Regions from separate parts of the Homo sapiens genome. Here region 1 is linked to region 2. The links are contacts of gene promoters, found by promoter capture Hi-C in human tissues and cell types (Jung and others, 2019). All regions are on one chromosome and are shown on one strand. Each heading gives the region's core, a stretch centred on a gene start or on the middle of the fragment in contact. The rest is flanking DNA. Distances are from core to core; before and after follow the strand shown.

What was found. The method cuts DNA at HindIII sites, captures the fragments that hold promoters and counts their contacts. A contact is called where the count stands out against the background at its distance.
Region 1: a fragment that was not itself captured here is called in contact with the fragment with the promoter of CRISPLD2 in region 2 in 1 of the 25 tissues and cell types used here (mesenchymal stem cells).

The regions. Positions count from the first base shown.
Region 1 is chr16:84,948,580-84,956,254 of GRCh38, forward strand. No RefSeq gene overlaps it. Among named protein-coding and RNA genes, the nearest start is that of LINC02176, 24 kb to the left of the region's middle. RefSeq lists enhancers at 1-25, 26-526. The HindIII fragment of the contact is 5,993 bases long and covers 3,049-7,675 here.
Region 2 is chr16:84,818,133-84,825,226 of GRCh38, forward strand. It overlaps CRISPLD2 (cysteine rich secretory protein LCCL domain containing 2), which reads left to right and starts at 1,853. Exons shown (of 15, transcript NM_031476.4): 1 at 1,853-2,001. RefSeq lists a silencer at 1,626-1,815. The HindIII fragment of the contact is 19,202 bases long and covers 1-7,094 here.

The sequences.
Region 1 (7,675 bases), core at 4,795-7,294, 130 kb after region 2:
GCTGGGGCTGAAATGGGGCCCTGGCCAGGCTTCCTCCGGTCCCTAGCCTGCCCTGCTTCTGCACCCAAAGCCCGCCCGGCCGGGCACTCCCACGGTGCCTGCACGCAGGTCCTCACCTGGGGCTGCGCCTCTAGGGCCTCCCACCTGAGACAGGCGTTGGGACTCTCCCCCAGTGCCTCCCACTGTGGCACATGAGGGGCAGTGCTGACTTCCTCAGTCACTCAGCAGATACTGACTGAGCACCGACCTTGTGCCGGCCAGGACTCCAGGTGCCAGGCGGTGCTGTGGCTATGTGTGTGTGTGTGTGTGTTCCTGTGTAGTTTTGTGTGTGTGTGTCCCTGTGTGGTTTTGTCTGTGTGTGTGTCTCTGTGTGTTTTTTTCCGTGTGTGTGCATGTGTCTGTGTGGTTTGGTCTGTGTGTGCTTGTGTCTGTGTGGTTTTGTCTGTGTGTGTCTCTGTGTGGTTTTGTCTGTGTGTGCATGTGTGAATCTGTGTGGTTTTGTCTGTGTGTGTGTGTGTGTCTGTGTGCTTTTGTCTGTGTCTGTGTGTGTGTGTGTCTGTGGTTTTGTCTGTGTGTGTGCATGTGTCTCTGTGTGGTTTTGTCTGTGTGTGTGTGTGCATGTCTGTGTGGTTTTGTCTGTGTGTGCACGTGTCTCTGTGTGGTTTTGTCTGTGTGTGTGTGCGTGTCTGTGTCTGTGTGTGTCTGTGTGGTTTTGTCTGTGTGTGTGCACGTGTCTCTGTGTGCTTTTGTCTGTGTGTGCGTGTGTGGTTTTGTCTGTGTCTGTGCGTGTCTGTGTGGTTTTGTCTGTGTGTGTGCACATGTCTGTGGTTTTGTCTGTGTGTGTTTGTGGTTTTGTCTGTGTCTGTGTGTGCTTGTCTGTGTGGTTTTGTCTGTGTGTGTGTGCGTGTCTGTGTGGTTTTATGTGTGCATGTGTGCCTCAGGTGCATCTCTGCGTGTGTCTCCGTGTGTGTGGTGGGGTGTGCCTCTCTCTGATGTTTCTACAGGGGAGGAGCAGGTATCAGGTCACACAGGTGCTAAGTCGCAGAACTAGGGTCTAAGCCCGAGTCCTGAGGCTCTCCACCAACCTGTGCCTCTGAGAAAGGAAGCGCGAATCCTCCACCGCGGGGCCTGCGTATCCCTTAGTTTGTATTTGATACTTGCCAAAAGAGCTCTGCGAGACTTATTTAGATTCTTATGAACACTCCGGGCACACGTAAACAAAGGAAACACGAGTGAAATGGGTGGATTACAGAATGTCCTAAACTTCTTCACTTTTGGAGTCTGACTCTCTGAATCACTCCTTAACTCTGAGTGATCAAGGTCCATGTTCTCTCGGTGCCACCAACCATGAGTACAGCAGCAACTCTTCAAGGGCTCCACTCAAGGGCTAAACCTTTGCTTCTTGAACCGGCTTTGCAATTACCGTATTTCATCAAATATGAGCTGCCACTGCAGGTGAGGAGCATCCTGATTCCAGAGACATTAAAATGGAAAGGAGGTGTGTTTCTCCAGTTTGATAAAAAGAGAAAGTGGCCTGGACTCCTTTTGACTCCCACATCCAACTAACACCTCCTTCAGCTTTCTGCACAGCCATGTAATTATCTTCCCAGCTATCCTAGCCCTCTCCCTCTCCCTCCAGGTTGGCATCGGCTCCTAGTTCTCTAAACAGAAGGATGTCCTGCCTCAGGCCTTCGTACATGCTGTTCCTTCCATCTGCACACCATTCCTGAGCCCCACATGACTCCCTCTCTCCCATTGTCCTGGTCTCTGTTCAAATGTCACCTAAGGGCCACCGAGCTGCACAACCTCTGGAGTGCCGTGCCCATCACCCTTCACCCCCTGCCTCAGCTGGACCCATTCCTCACAAGCCAGAGGAATTTTACTCTAATGGTGGAATTTCAGGCCAAGTAGAAAAATATATTTCGTGTGTATGAAGAAAGGGGAAAAAGAACCCTTCTCTGAGACCTCAAGTTATTATTTAATTGATTAATTTTTAGTCATTGATTAAATTATTAAATAACAAATGAAATCAATTGTATTAATTTCTTAGGAGTAAATTATTTTTCCACTGCACTCCAGCCTGGACAACAGAGCAAGACCCTATCTCTAAAAAATTTATATAAATCTATTGCCAATTTATTAATTGCTATTTAACAATGAGTTCCACCAACTGAGGGCGCTGGACCAGGCATGGTATGAACCTAAAGAGCCACACCCTTATGATCTACTGGGCCCAGTAGGGTCTGACCCTGTGACCTGTCTGGGCCCATTCCCAGCGCCTGCTGCTGCAGCCACACCAGCCTTCCCCCAGCTGCCACAGAGCCTTTGCTTCCTGACCACCTTCAAGCACTCCTAGATCTTGGCCCCCTAAGCCAGCTCGGCCCCAGGGTGATTGCACTTTTCCTGCCTTTGGGCAGCAGGTGGTGTATCAGTCAGGACTGGCCACATTGTGCCGCTGTGACAAACAAACCCCAAATCCCAGTGGCTGAAGACAATAAGGATGTGTTCCTTGCTCATTCTCTGTGTCAGAGGCCAGCGGGGGGTTCTGCTCATCATGGACACTAGGGGGCCCCAGCTCAGGGAGTAGCCACATCTCAACGGTTGCCAGCAGCCGTGCCAGAGGCGCTCACGTTGGTGAGTAAATGCTCCAGCCTGGGCAGGGACGCATGTCTCTTCTGCTCACATGCTTCCCGGCTACAGGTAGGAGAATGACAATGCGTGCCACATCCCCTCAAAAGGGGCAGAAAGTCTAATCCTACCAGGTGCCTAGAAGAGAGACAACCAGAAATATTTGGTGCCCAGCACTAATATCTATACCAGGTGGCGTTCAGTGAGCATCCAGTGCAATACAGCTTCCTGAGCAGCTCCTAGGTGCCAGGCACTGCACAGGGCATAGGGAACCAGCAGTGAAGACAGACAGTGGACAAGCCAGGACAGAACTCATGACTTCACTGCATGGGTGGCGCCTGCTGCAGGGAGAATGCTGGGCTCCAGCATGTCGAGCAGGGTCCAGTGACTTCAAGGAGGGGTTTAGAAAGGCCCCTCACTCTGGGACCAGTGTTTCAGGTAAGGCCTAAAGGGTGACTAGGACTTCTCTGGGTGAAGATGAGTGGAACAGCCTTCTAAGAAGTGGGCGGGGCCGGGAACAATGGCTCACACCTGTAATCCCAGCACTTTGGGAGGATGAGGCAGGCAGATCACCTGAGGTCACGAGTTCAAGGCCAGCCTGGACAACATGGTGAAACCCCATCTCTATTAGAAATACAAAAATTAGCTGGGCACGGTGGCTCATGCCTGTAATCCCAGCACTTTGGGAGGACAAGGCTGGTGGATCACCTGAGGTCAGGAGCTCGAGACTGGCCTGGAAAACATGGTGAAACCCCATCTCTATTAGAAATACAAAGATTAGCTGGGCGTGCTGGCGGGCGCCTGTAATCCCAGCTGCTTGGGAGGCTGAGGCAGGAGAATCACTTGAACCTGGGAGATGGAGGTTGCAGTGAGCCGAGATCGCACCACTGCGCTCCAGCCTGGCAACAAGAGCGAAACTCCGTCTCAAAAAAAAAAAAAAAAAAAGAAGTGGGCATAACATGTGCAAAAGACCTGCGGCTGCAGGAAATAATCTTTTCCAGCAACTGTGAGGAAGCCAGCGTGGCTGGAACACATAGCACGGAGGAGAATAAGATGGAGCTGGAGAGGTCAGCGGCCAGATCATTCACAACTTTGTACACCGGCTTGTGAGCCCCAGCCCTCATCCTGAGAGCCATAAGGAGCCATAGAGGGTTTGTCGCGATGTGGCTCTGAGCAGCACCCTCTGGTGGCCTTTTAGGGAATGACACTCTTAACATACATGGGCAGCTCCAGGCTGCAGACATTGCTGCCCGGCCAGTCCTGGGCTTGGTTCTAAGTGTTACTTGCAGCCCTTCAGAGAATGCCCATTCCATTAACGCTGGGTGAACACCGCTCACAAAAGGCAATAACCAAGTCTGCAGCTGGCGGGAGACATTTGAGATGGCACACCACCAAGTCATGCTCTCCAGGAGACACCAGACAGACAGGCCAGCGCTACACGGAGCTGACCCAGACGGCAGAAGGTCTGGCTAGCCTGGGTTTTCTCCAATGGGTGCCTGGCTGGGACCTGACTTCAGAGGTTGAGCAAGGGGAGGGGATGGAATCCTGATCCCCTTAATCTTCGTGCAGGGCTGGTGAATCTCAGGCCCCAGGCAGACAGCCAGCCAATGGGCAGAGAGGCCAGGAGCTGACTCCACAGCTCCTGGCCTCATCTGGGAAGGGAGATAAACTCCACCAGCCAGACAAAGGGGGCCCCAAGGCCAGGGCCTCCCTCACATGCCTGTGGCCTCTCTCTGCTTGAGACTGCACCATAGGCCGCAGGCCCTTATCAGCCATGGCCTGGGGACTTCCCAAAGTACAGCCTGCCAGCAAAAGACCACCACCAACTGTTTCATTCTTCATTTCAGACAGGATGAATTGAGCCACCTGACCTTTTCTGGAAAGAGGCAAGAGAAGGAATGTTTCCTCCTTCAGTAAAAGACACTCAGACACATGTCCAGTGTCACGGTGCAAAAGGGTCAGGAAACCAAGTCCCCTCCCATCCCAAAGCCCCATTTCCCTTCCACATTGCTGGTGTCTTTTGTCCTTCCAGAGAGCCCCAGCACAGAGCAGCAAATATGAGCTTAGTGATTCCTGGAGAGGGCTGTGTCCCATGAATGGACTGCCACTTGCTGGCTGCTGGCTTTACGTCTACAGGCAAAGGATGTTATGAAATAGCTCCGGAAGTTTCTTTTGGGGGCCCCCAGCACCTCTTCTCCTATCACGACCAGGCTCTGAAAATGAGGCTTCTTGCTCAGGGAAGAGAACAGGTACAGAGGAATCCACACTCAGCTTTGAGCATCAAAATAAGGGTTTTTAAGGTTTAAGTGTTTGATGAGACAGTGGTCTTGAAAGCCAGGCTTTCCTGGAATTCCCAGAGCCACACGTGACCTGACCACAGTGGAAATCAGACAGGGGACACGTGCAAGATGCAGCCCTGGGGACAGAAAGGCAAACAGCAAGGAGGCGGCTGCAAGAGGGACTTGGGGGAGGTGACAGAGGTGACCATCTTGCTACGACCCCACCGGGTGGAGAGATGGAGACGGGGAAAGCAAACAAAACCCACACAAACAACAACAGAAAACCTGCTCTCAGGGCCGCGTAATGACCGGTGCCCTTTTGTACAGAAGCCCCGCCAGGTTTTGAACTTCAAGCAGGTCCGTGGGGGAAGAAAAGGGCCCAGTCCCATGGAAATTTCCTAGTAGGGTTTATTTTGAAGCAAAGGTTTGGCAGACGTGACCCAGTCTCCTTGGCTAGACAGGGCCTCTTTGAAAAGAGTCAAAAACAGCAGAAAGATGGGAAGTGGTCCTAGAATGAGCTGGTTTTAGTGGAATCTTCTTCTTCCAAAAAGAACCGCCAGAGGCCAGCCCAGGCCTCCCTTGCTTTCCAGAATTCAACTCAACTCACCTGTGGCCCGATGAGCTCGGCGATTCAGCTCGCCCTAATTCCCCAAACCTGTGCAGGTTACCTGACGTGGCAAAAGGCACTTTGCAGGTGGGGCAAGGGGCACCTTGCCATAGGGAGGGTAACCCGGGTCATCCAGGTGGACCTAATCGAGTCACACGAGTCCTTAGAATCAGAGAACCTTTCTGAGCTGCGGTCGGAGGGAGCCGTGGTGGAACCTTTCTGAGCTGTGGTCAGAGGGAGCCGTGATAGAACCTTTCCGAGGGTGCTGTGATTACCGAAGCAGCAGCAGAGATGCAACATTGCCGGCTCTGAAGGTGGACGAAGCGGCCAGGAGCCATGGGATGCCAGTGACCTCTGGACGCTGGAAAAGGCAGGGAAACAGATTCTCCCCCAGAACCCCCAGAAGTTACCAGCCCTGTTGACCGTGACCCAAGCCCAGGGAGACTGAGGCTGGGTTTCTGACCTGTGGAACCGTAAATGACAAATGAGGTTTTTAAGCTGCTAAGTCTGTGGACATTTGTTACAGAACCCGTCGAAAATCCACCCGTCATCTTTCTTGAGCTCCTATGTGGCCGTTCCTGGGATGTGATTCCTAATCCTCGTGACCACCTGTGAGACTGGGCCTGTGATCCCCAGTTCACAGATGGGGAAACTGAGGCTCTCTGAGATGAACTGACGCCCCTTGGGGACCTGAGCAGGGACGGGAACTCCAGGCTGACTCCAAGCTGCGTGGACCTCCGGCTGCCTACAGGTGAGGTGTGTGTCTAACTGCCTCTCAGGGGAGAGGCTGGGACTTGGTGACAGCCTGTGCGGAAAGTGCTGGCACAGAGGAGGGGTTCAGGCCACGTCAGTCCTCTCGCCCCTTTTCCCAAACATCTGCTGACACAGCTCCATTCTGGCTGCTAATTGGGTGACAGATTCTTCCTGATTGCCACTACAAAGCTATTATAAAATCAACCCTGGCCGGGCGTGGGGCTCATGCTGTAATCCCAGCACTTTGGGAGGCCAAGGCAGGAAGACTGCTTGAGGCTAGGAGTCCAAGACCAGCCTGAGCAACATAGCGAGAGCCCATCTCTACAAAAACAATTTTTAAAAATGAGCCAGGTAGGGTGGTGCACACCTGTGGTCCCAGCTACTTGGGGTGTTGAGGTGGAAGAATCACTTTAGCCGGGGAGGGCAAGGCTGCAGTGAGCTGAGATGGTGCCACTGCACTCCAGCCTGGGTGACAGAGCAAGACTGTCTCAAAATAAAATCAGCCCTGGGCTCCCATGGGCAAAAAAACTACTTACCCCCCACACCCTGTGCCCTCTTGGTGGGTAAAAGGCTAAGAAGCTCAAATTGGCAGGAATGTGGTTGGGGCCCCGGCCACCCATGTTGGCCCTGTCTGATCGCTGTGTGACCTCAGGCCAGTCAGCACACCTCTCTGGAAATGTGTTGTTTGGTTTGGCAGAGCTCCCAAGGTTCCCTGCAGCACCAGCTACCTGGGAGCCGCTCTGGTCCCTGCCTGGGCACTGGGGATCAGGTCGGGCTGGCGGCTGCTAGGTGTCAACACCTGCAGCCTGGCAGGTGCCCCAGAGCCCTCCAATCAAGGCCAAACCTTCCTGCCCTCCCGTTCCAAAAGTCAAAGGTGCTCCCTCCCCAGGGAGCTTAGGTCAGGGCCTGGCCCTAAAGCTCTGTGTTCCACCTGGCTTGGCTGACCTCAGGGCAGCCATTCCTTGGAAGGGAAATAAGCCTACAGCTGCCAGGGAAAGTGGAATGGCCCAGGGGTCCCCAACGGTACCCCCAGGCCAGGAGGTAATGGCTCCTTGGCTCAGTCTTTCTCACACTTTGCTGGCAGCAAAGTACGTTGGGGGGCAGGCATAATGCTGACCCACTCTACCAGGTGGAATTGTGTCCCCGAAAAAGATACGTTTAGGTCCTAATCCCCGAAACCTGTGAATGTGACCCTATTTTGAAATTGAATCTTTGCAAATATAATTCGTTAACATGAGGTCACACTGGAGTAGGCTAGACCTTAATCCAATGGCTGGTGTCCTTAGAAGAGAGAAACTGGGCCAGGCACGGTGGCTCACGCCTGTAATTCCAGGACTTTGGGAGGCCAAGGTGGGCAGATCACTTGAGGCCAGGAGTTCAAGACTAGCCTGGCCAACATGACCAAACC
Region 2 (7,094 bases), core at 603-3,102:
AACTCAAGCCACCTGCCTGGGCCTCCCAAAGTGCTGGGATTACAGGCCTGAGCCATCGTGCCAGGCCTCCAAAGGCATCTGCTAACACAGATCTCTTCTCCCCTTGGATTTGTCTTTTGTCAATCCAAGGACTGTTGTTCTGGAACAGTCTTATTCACTACTGAGCCCTCCAGTGCTTGAAACAGAGCCCAGCACATAGTAGGTGCTTAATTATTGGATGACTGCATGCCAGTTGAGTGCCTCTGAAGAATGATGCTTCAAAGACTGAGAAAAGTAAAACAAAAAGAGGAAAAAAAGATAACAGAAAACATCTGCATTATTATTATCTTTTTGAGATGGAGTTTTGTTCTTGTCTCCTAGGCTAGAGTGCAATGGCGCCATCTCAGCTCACTGCAACCTCTGCCTCTCAGGTTCGAGCGATTCTCCTGCCTCAGCCTCCCAAGTAGCTGGGACTACAGGCATGCACCACCATGCCCGGCTAATTTTTGTATTTTTAGTAGAGACAGTGTCACCATGTTGGCCGGGATGGTTTCGAACTCCTGATCTCAGGTGATCCGCCCGCCTCAAACTCCCACAGTGCTGGGATTACAGGTGTGAGCCACCGCGCCCGGCCAGTCTGCATTATTCTGTATCTGCATTTGAGCCGCACCAAAATCTTAGGCAAGCCTTCCCTGTTTGAGTCCACGTCACGCAGGCAGCCTTCCATAGTCCTTGTTCCACCCATTCCCCATCCTTGTTTCTCCCACGTGCCCTAGCTCGTGGGGGCCCCAGACTCTGAGATCCCGGAGGTGTCTTGTTTGTGCCTGCTGTATAGCACAGGGCCCGGCACAGAGCGACTCGATGGGTATTTGGGGAATGAGTTAATGCTGGAGGAGCTAATTCCGGTGTCTTGGTGCGGAGATGAGCAGTGCGGACAGGCCCCCTCCTGCCCTTGGGCCCCAGCACCTTACCGCGCAGTGCCTGCATACCCGTCCACATTTTGTGACTGAGGCGGGAGCACGGGGCAGTCCCTTAGCTCTTAAGGAACGTGGATTTACCTGTTTCAAAGGTGATTTCGTCTGGCTCTAAATTGATTTCCGTATGTACCTGCACAGGTTAAAAATGCTAAATGCCTCCGGGCAAAAGAGATATGAACATGCTGCACTGCTCCTAGCTACGGGACTTGGGGCACGCTCTTCTCCAAGCCTCAGCTACTGGATCTGTGAAATGAGGTGATTTCCACCTCCCTGGATTCCTGGGAACGCGTCCTAGGGTCGTTGAAGGTAAAGTGCGGAGCCTGGATCCCCGCGCTAGCGGCCCCATCCGGAAACAAGTCTCCCTTTCTTCGTCTGCAAATTGGGAAGAGGGGGCCTAAGTTTTCTGAGCACGTGTAGAGGGTGGGAGTCACCTCAGTAACTGTGTACTCTGCACCGCGCCACAGTTCACAGCGCCCAGCCCTTGCGGATTTCATTTGCTAAAATCCTGGGAGGTCGCCTCCTTATTCCTATTTTCCAGTTGAGCTGCAGAGAGCTGGGGTTTGGTAAATTTGCAAGCCCCTTGTGGGAAGCGCTTGGCACCGCGCCAGGCGCATAGTAAGCGCTCAATGAAAACTATGCTTGTGTGGCCAGTGGCGAGGGAGCTGAGCGTCTCCTTGTCCCTAGCCGGCCCTGGAGGCCAGCGGCCCCGCCTTCCTCGCCCACCCGGCGCCCGCGCCTCAGCTGCCCCCCGCCTCCTTCAGCCCGCTGAGCCTGCGGGGCGGGGCCGGGGGCGGGGCCGGTGATGCTCGGTCCTACCAGCGCCGCCAGCGATCTGGGGGCGTGGCCTCCGGGCTCCGGGGAGCCTACAAGAGGCGGTACGCTGAGCCCCGGCACCCACTCGCATCCCAGGGCGTCTCCGGCTGCTCCTATTGAGCTGTCTGCTCGCTGTGCCCGCTGTGCCTGCTGTGCCCGCGCTGTCGCCGCTGCTACCGCGTCTGCTGGACGCGGGAGACGCCAGCGAGCTGGTGATTGGAGCCCTGCGGAGGTAAGTGTGATTTCCATGCTTCTCCCTTTTGCAAACTGTTACCCCCCCGAGAAGCTGGAATAACTAGGACAGATGCCACCTCGCAGGGCTGACTGTGTGCTGGCACCACACCGAGTGCTCTGCTTGCATAGCGGAACACAGCTTTGCGACATGCCCTTTTGCAGATGGAGAAACTGAGGCTCAGCGAGGACAACTCATTTGTCCAGGACCTCGCAGCCAGGACTCCAAGGACCCAGGATTCAACGCCGATCTGAGCGCAGAATCCTGCTCCTTAGAGGCTGTTTACTCTCTTGCCTTCCTCGTGCAGTTCACTAGCATTTGTTGCATTCCTGTGTTCGTAGTGGGTGTCAATAACTGGAAAGCTGATGGCATGGATATGGCAGGCATTAGAATGTGTCCTACTCATGTCTGGAGGACCAGGGTGATCTAGTGGCATGTGCATTCAGCTGCAGTTTAGAGGGCCACGCCCCTCTGTGATTTCATTTGCAAGGTAGCCTTCTTCCCACATTTCAGATGAAGATGCTGAGGGTCAGAGAGGTGAAGTAAGTTGTCCGGGCAGAGCCAGGGCTGGAACCCAGCTCTGTCTGTCTCCAGAGCTTCAAATGGATGTGTAGAGACTTGGGGCCATGTCAGGGTTCTGCAGTCTGGGGGAACACGTTTCTGGGTTTCTTTAGCCAGAGCGGGCACCTGCATAACTCCTGCGTGGGGAGAGTTACCCTGGAAGCGGAGGGCTCACTCTGGAGTGTGGGGGAGATCGGTCGTCCCACGTGGACAGAGCCAGGGCTAGTCCCTCATGTGCTGCAGACCCAGAGCCTCCCTTGCTAAGGCTGGGCTGGTGGACAAGCCAGGGAGGACTTCGCTGATGCCTGCTCATCGCAGTCCAACTTGAATTGGGCGTCTCTCAGCCAAAATGTGAGTTGCTGCCCTGGCTGAGAGAAGCATCCCGTGCAAATGCCTAGCTTGCCTTGCAACCGAGAGTGGGGTTGTGAGTTTCCCCTTTGGGCCTTTGGACCTCTTGCCCTGGTAGAATGGGGTGAGCCTGCTTTCCCCATCCAGGGTCTGATGTCTGACAGTGAGGAGAGCCTGCAGAACAGGACCGGGGCGTGGTCCTTTCCAGTAGACTGAGGCCATGAGTTGTGACTGTCGGCTGTCCCAGGGCTCCTTGGGTTGTATGCACCTGATTTTCTGCTTCTGCCCCTGATCTGGCTGTTCCCACTCAGGAGAAGGGGTGGGTGTGTGACTGTGTTGCCTGTGCGGCAGGCACGCGGTCTGTGCCACGCAGTTTACCTGTATTGTCATCGCTGCAACACCCCGGGGAGTAGGCCTCTTGATGCCCACTTCACAGCTGAGGAAACTGAGGCTCAGCAAGGTGAAGTGCTTGCCTAAGATCCCCCAGCTGGTATGGAATGCTGTCACCCCCAGGTGGGTCCTATCTGCACTCTTGACCCTGCTTTCTTTAAGACACTTCCCTGCCCACTGCCAACTCCACCCATGAACCTGACCTTCACACAGGTGATGTTTTGTCTTACAGGGGCTCCAGTTAAAACCACTGGACAATGTACCCAGGGAGGAGAAACCAAGAGGGTGATTTTGATTTTTTCAGAGTTTCTTAAGATGTGAGAGTAGGAATAGTAATAATGCCATTTGTAATAATACAAGCAGCTGACATTTACATGATGCTTAGTACAGACCAGACATGCCCAGGGTTTCCACGGATGAGCTCACTGCCTGCTCTATTAGCTGGGCACTTTTTACAAGGAGTTAGTTGAGGCTCAGAATTATTAAGGTGTGTGCCCAACATGACACAGCCAGGGCGGGGTAGAGCTGCCGTCCAGGCTGGGCCCTGCCCCAGATTCTGGGGGAAGGTGCCCATCTAATGACCAGCCACATGACTGTCCCAGCAGAGCTTGCTGCTAGTTGAGGCTTTCTGTGCCATGTGGGAGTTTTTTTAACGTTGGCAGGGATCTGGGTCCCTGGTCCCTGTTGGGGTGAGGCTGGGAGGGGATCAACTGACCCTGGGCTTGGGCTCAACATTGCTGACAGGTACTGAGAGCCCCGTCCCAGGACCCAAATCAGTGCTGGTTCTGAGTCCTGCCTCTGTCCTGGAGAGGAGAGTTGGTTTGACTGGGAAGGCCTGAGCTAGGGAAGAAGACTGCGAGGTCTCTTAAAACCTCTGCACTTCATCCCTCAAAAGACCACAAATTAAGTATGTGGCCCTTTGTAAGTTGCATTTGAAAGTTTTTGGAGGCAGGACCCTCTGACGTCTTTGGAGGTCAGAAAGTTTTTGGAGGCAGGGCACTGACCTCTTTGGCCTGTGGGAACTGGAACTTTTCTTTCCTCTGTCACCAGCGTCATTTGCTGTGTGTGGGAGGTGTCTGCATGTCTGCCTGCGCCAGACTCAGGAGGCTTTTTCTTTCTTTTTCTTTTTTCTTCTTTTGCAAACGCACTGGTTTTTGATCAGTCCCAGATGTGCAAACCCAGGATCACTCAAACGGGCTGACGGCTTGTCAGGAAAGGAAAATTCAATCTGGGCATATTTCACTTCGTCTTCAGTTCATTGAGTGGAACAGATGCTCAGACCTTCCAGGGACAGGGACCTAAAGCACGTTGTAAAGTCTTAAATAGAGCACGCTGAGTTCTGGGACAGGCAAGGGACAGGTAGATCTGGGTGGTGGTTAATAGGATGGGCCATGTTCTGTTTTTCTTTTTCCTGAAAAGATGTATTGTGGTAAAAATACACATAAACATAAAATTTACCATTTAACCCATTTTGAAGTGTACAATTCAGTGGCGTTTAGTACATTGGAAGTATTGTGCAGCCACCACCACTAATTCCAGAGCGTTTCATCATCTCGTAAGGAAACCCCAGGCCCATTAGGCATCATTCGCCATTCTCCTCCCTTCAGCCGCTCATCTCCTTTCTGTCTCTACGAACTTGCTTATTCTGGACATTTCATGTAAATGGAACCACACAATGTGTGGCCTTTTGTGTCTGGCTCCTCTCACTCAGCATCATGTTTTCAAGGTTCATCCATGTTGTAATGTGTATGAGACCTTCGTTCCTTTTTTATGGCTGAGTAATATTCCATTGCATTAATAGACCACGTTTTGTTTATTCATTCTTCCACTGAAGGAAATCTGGGCTGTTTCCACCTTTGGCTTTTACAGAGGCTTCTGCTGTGAACATTTGTGTACAAGGTTTTTTGAGGGCGGATGTTTTCATATCTCTTGAGTGTTTACCTGGGAGGGAATTGCTGGGTCATATGGTAACTTTATGTTTAACTTATTGAGGAGACTGTGGCCTCTTTTTTGAGTTCCTTCTTGAAGCATCAACTCAGGTCATGTCATTCCAGAATGTGTTGCTGGCCTTCTCCATGGGTGCAGGGAAGCCCTGGCATTTGGCATTTGTGGGCAGTGTTGGCGTGCCACCTGGGTCACAGCAGCAGCAGGCAGGGAATCCTGAGACATCGCCCTGGGGGAGCCCTGCCTTCTACCCCAGGCTGTACAATGACGAGTACTCTTGGACAAAGACCCCTCTTGCAAGGCTGCGAGGACATCATGGTCCAGCCCGAGGGAGATTTATCTTTGATTGTCTTGAGTGCTGCATCAGCTAAGACAAAAACCACAGAGTCAGAGGGAAAAAAAACGTCCTGATGAGGATTGTGCAATTTCCGGACCATCATTTTTTAAAAATTATAAATTATGAAATCCCACATTTTCAATCCCAATTTCTGGAACGTGTTTTATTTTGAGCACAGAATGGCAACATCCCAGGAAAAAAAGTCATGCTCCCATTTTGCTTGTAATCAAGTGAGCTGGAACTGACCCTACCCCAAATATTTTTTGAATAGGGAAAAGACTCAACTGGACCCCTCTAAGGACTGGGAGCTGGCATGGAGCTGGCATCTTCTGAGACTGACTTGAGAAGAGCCTGATAACGCCTAGAGGAAACAGGCAGGGTTTTGCGAGCAGGGGAAGATGATAGTGGGTGGGTGGGGAGCTGGCGAGGGTGCCCCAGGCAGAGGCACCGTGTGTGTGCAAAGGCCTGCAGGTGGAGAAGGGCCTGGGACTCTTGGAGAATGGCAGGAAGTTTGGTGTGCCTGTAGTCTACGAGCCAGGCTCAGGGCAGCAAAGGTCTGTCCTGCAGGTGTTGTGATGAGCTGTACCACTTAGTGGGCACCATCAAGATGAACAGAGAGTAACACGGTGGCACTGAGAACTTGAGAACAGCTCACTCTAGAATGAACTGTGTCCTCCAAAGTGTGCAGAGCCAATACCTAGGGGTCCCCAAGGTGACTGAGCACGGGCACAGATCCAGCAGCAAATCCCCCCAGTCCAAGAGCTGTTCTTTCCATTCTCTGTTCTTTCCATTCTCTGTTCTTCCGGTCCTTCTGCTTATGGCAAGGTGAAAGTCACAGGTGGAATTGTCCCTATCACCTCTCCCACACCCTGATCTCCTTTTACAACAAAGAGCAAGCATCCTCTACAACAAAGCCTTTGGTTGGTGTCAGTGCCTGGCTGGGAGGAAGTAACTGTTGTTTTTACTGTGTTTAATTTCACTCCTGCCGTCTGTTCACGGCACCAGTGATCAGGTTCTCTGCCAGTGGGAGTGATAGAAAGTTACCTTTTTAAAGTAAATTTCTTGGAACGCAAAAAACAAGCCAAGTTAAATAAAAATACAAAATATGGGGCCAGGCGCGGTGGCTCATGCCTGTCATCCCAGCACTTTGGGAGGCTGAGACGGTGGATCACCTGAGGTCAGGAGTTTGAGACCAGCCTGACCAACAAGGTGAAACCCCATCTCTACTAAAAATACAAAAATTAGCCGGGCGTGGTGGCAGGCACCTGTAGTCCCAGCTACTCGGGAGGCTGAGACAGAAGAATTGCTTGAACCCGGGAGGCGGAGGTTGCAGTGAGCCGAGATCACGCCACCACTGCACTCCAGCCTGGGTGACGGAGCGAGATGCCATTTCAAAACAAAAACAAAATATGTACTGGTACCAGTACACAGTAGGAAGGTGGGCAAAACTTGGGAAGGGGGATATTCAAAGGACAGGGTTTGGGAAATGCTGGATCAAGGTCGGGGAAGAAGG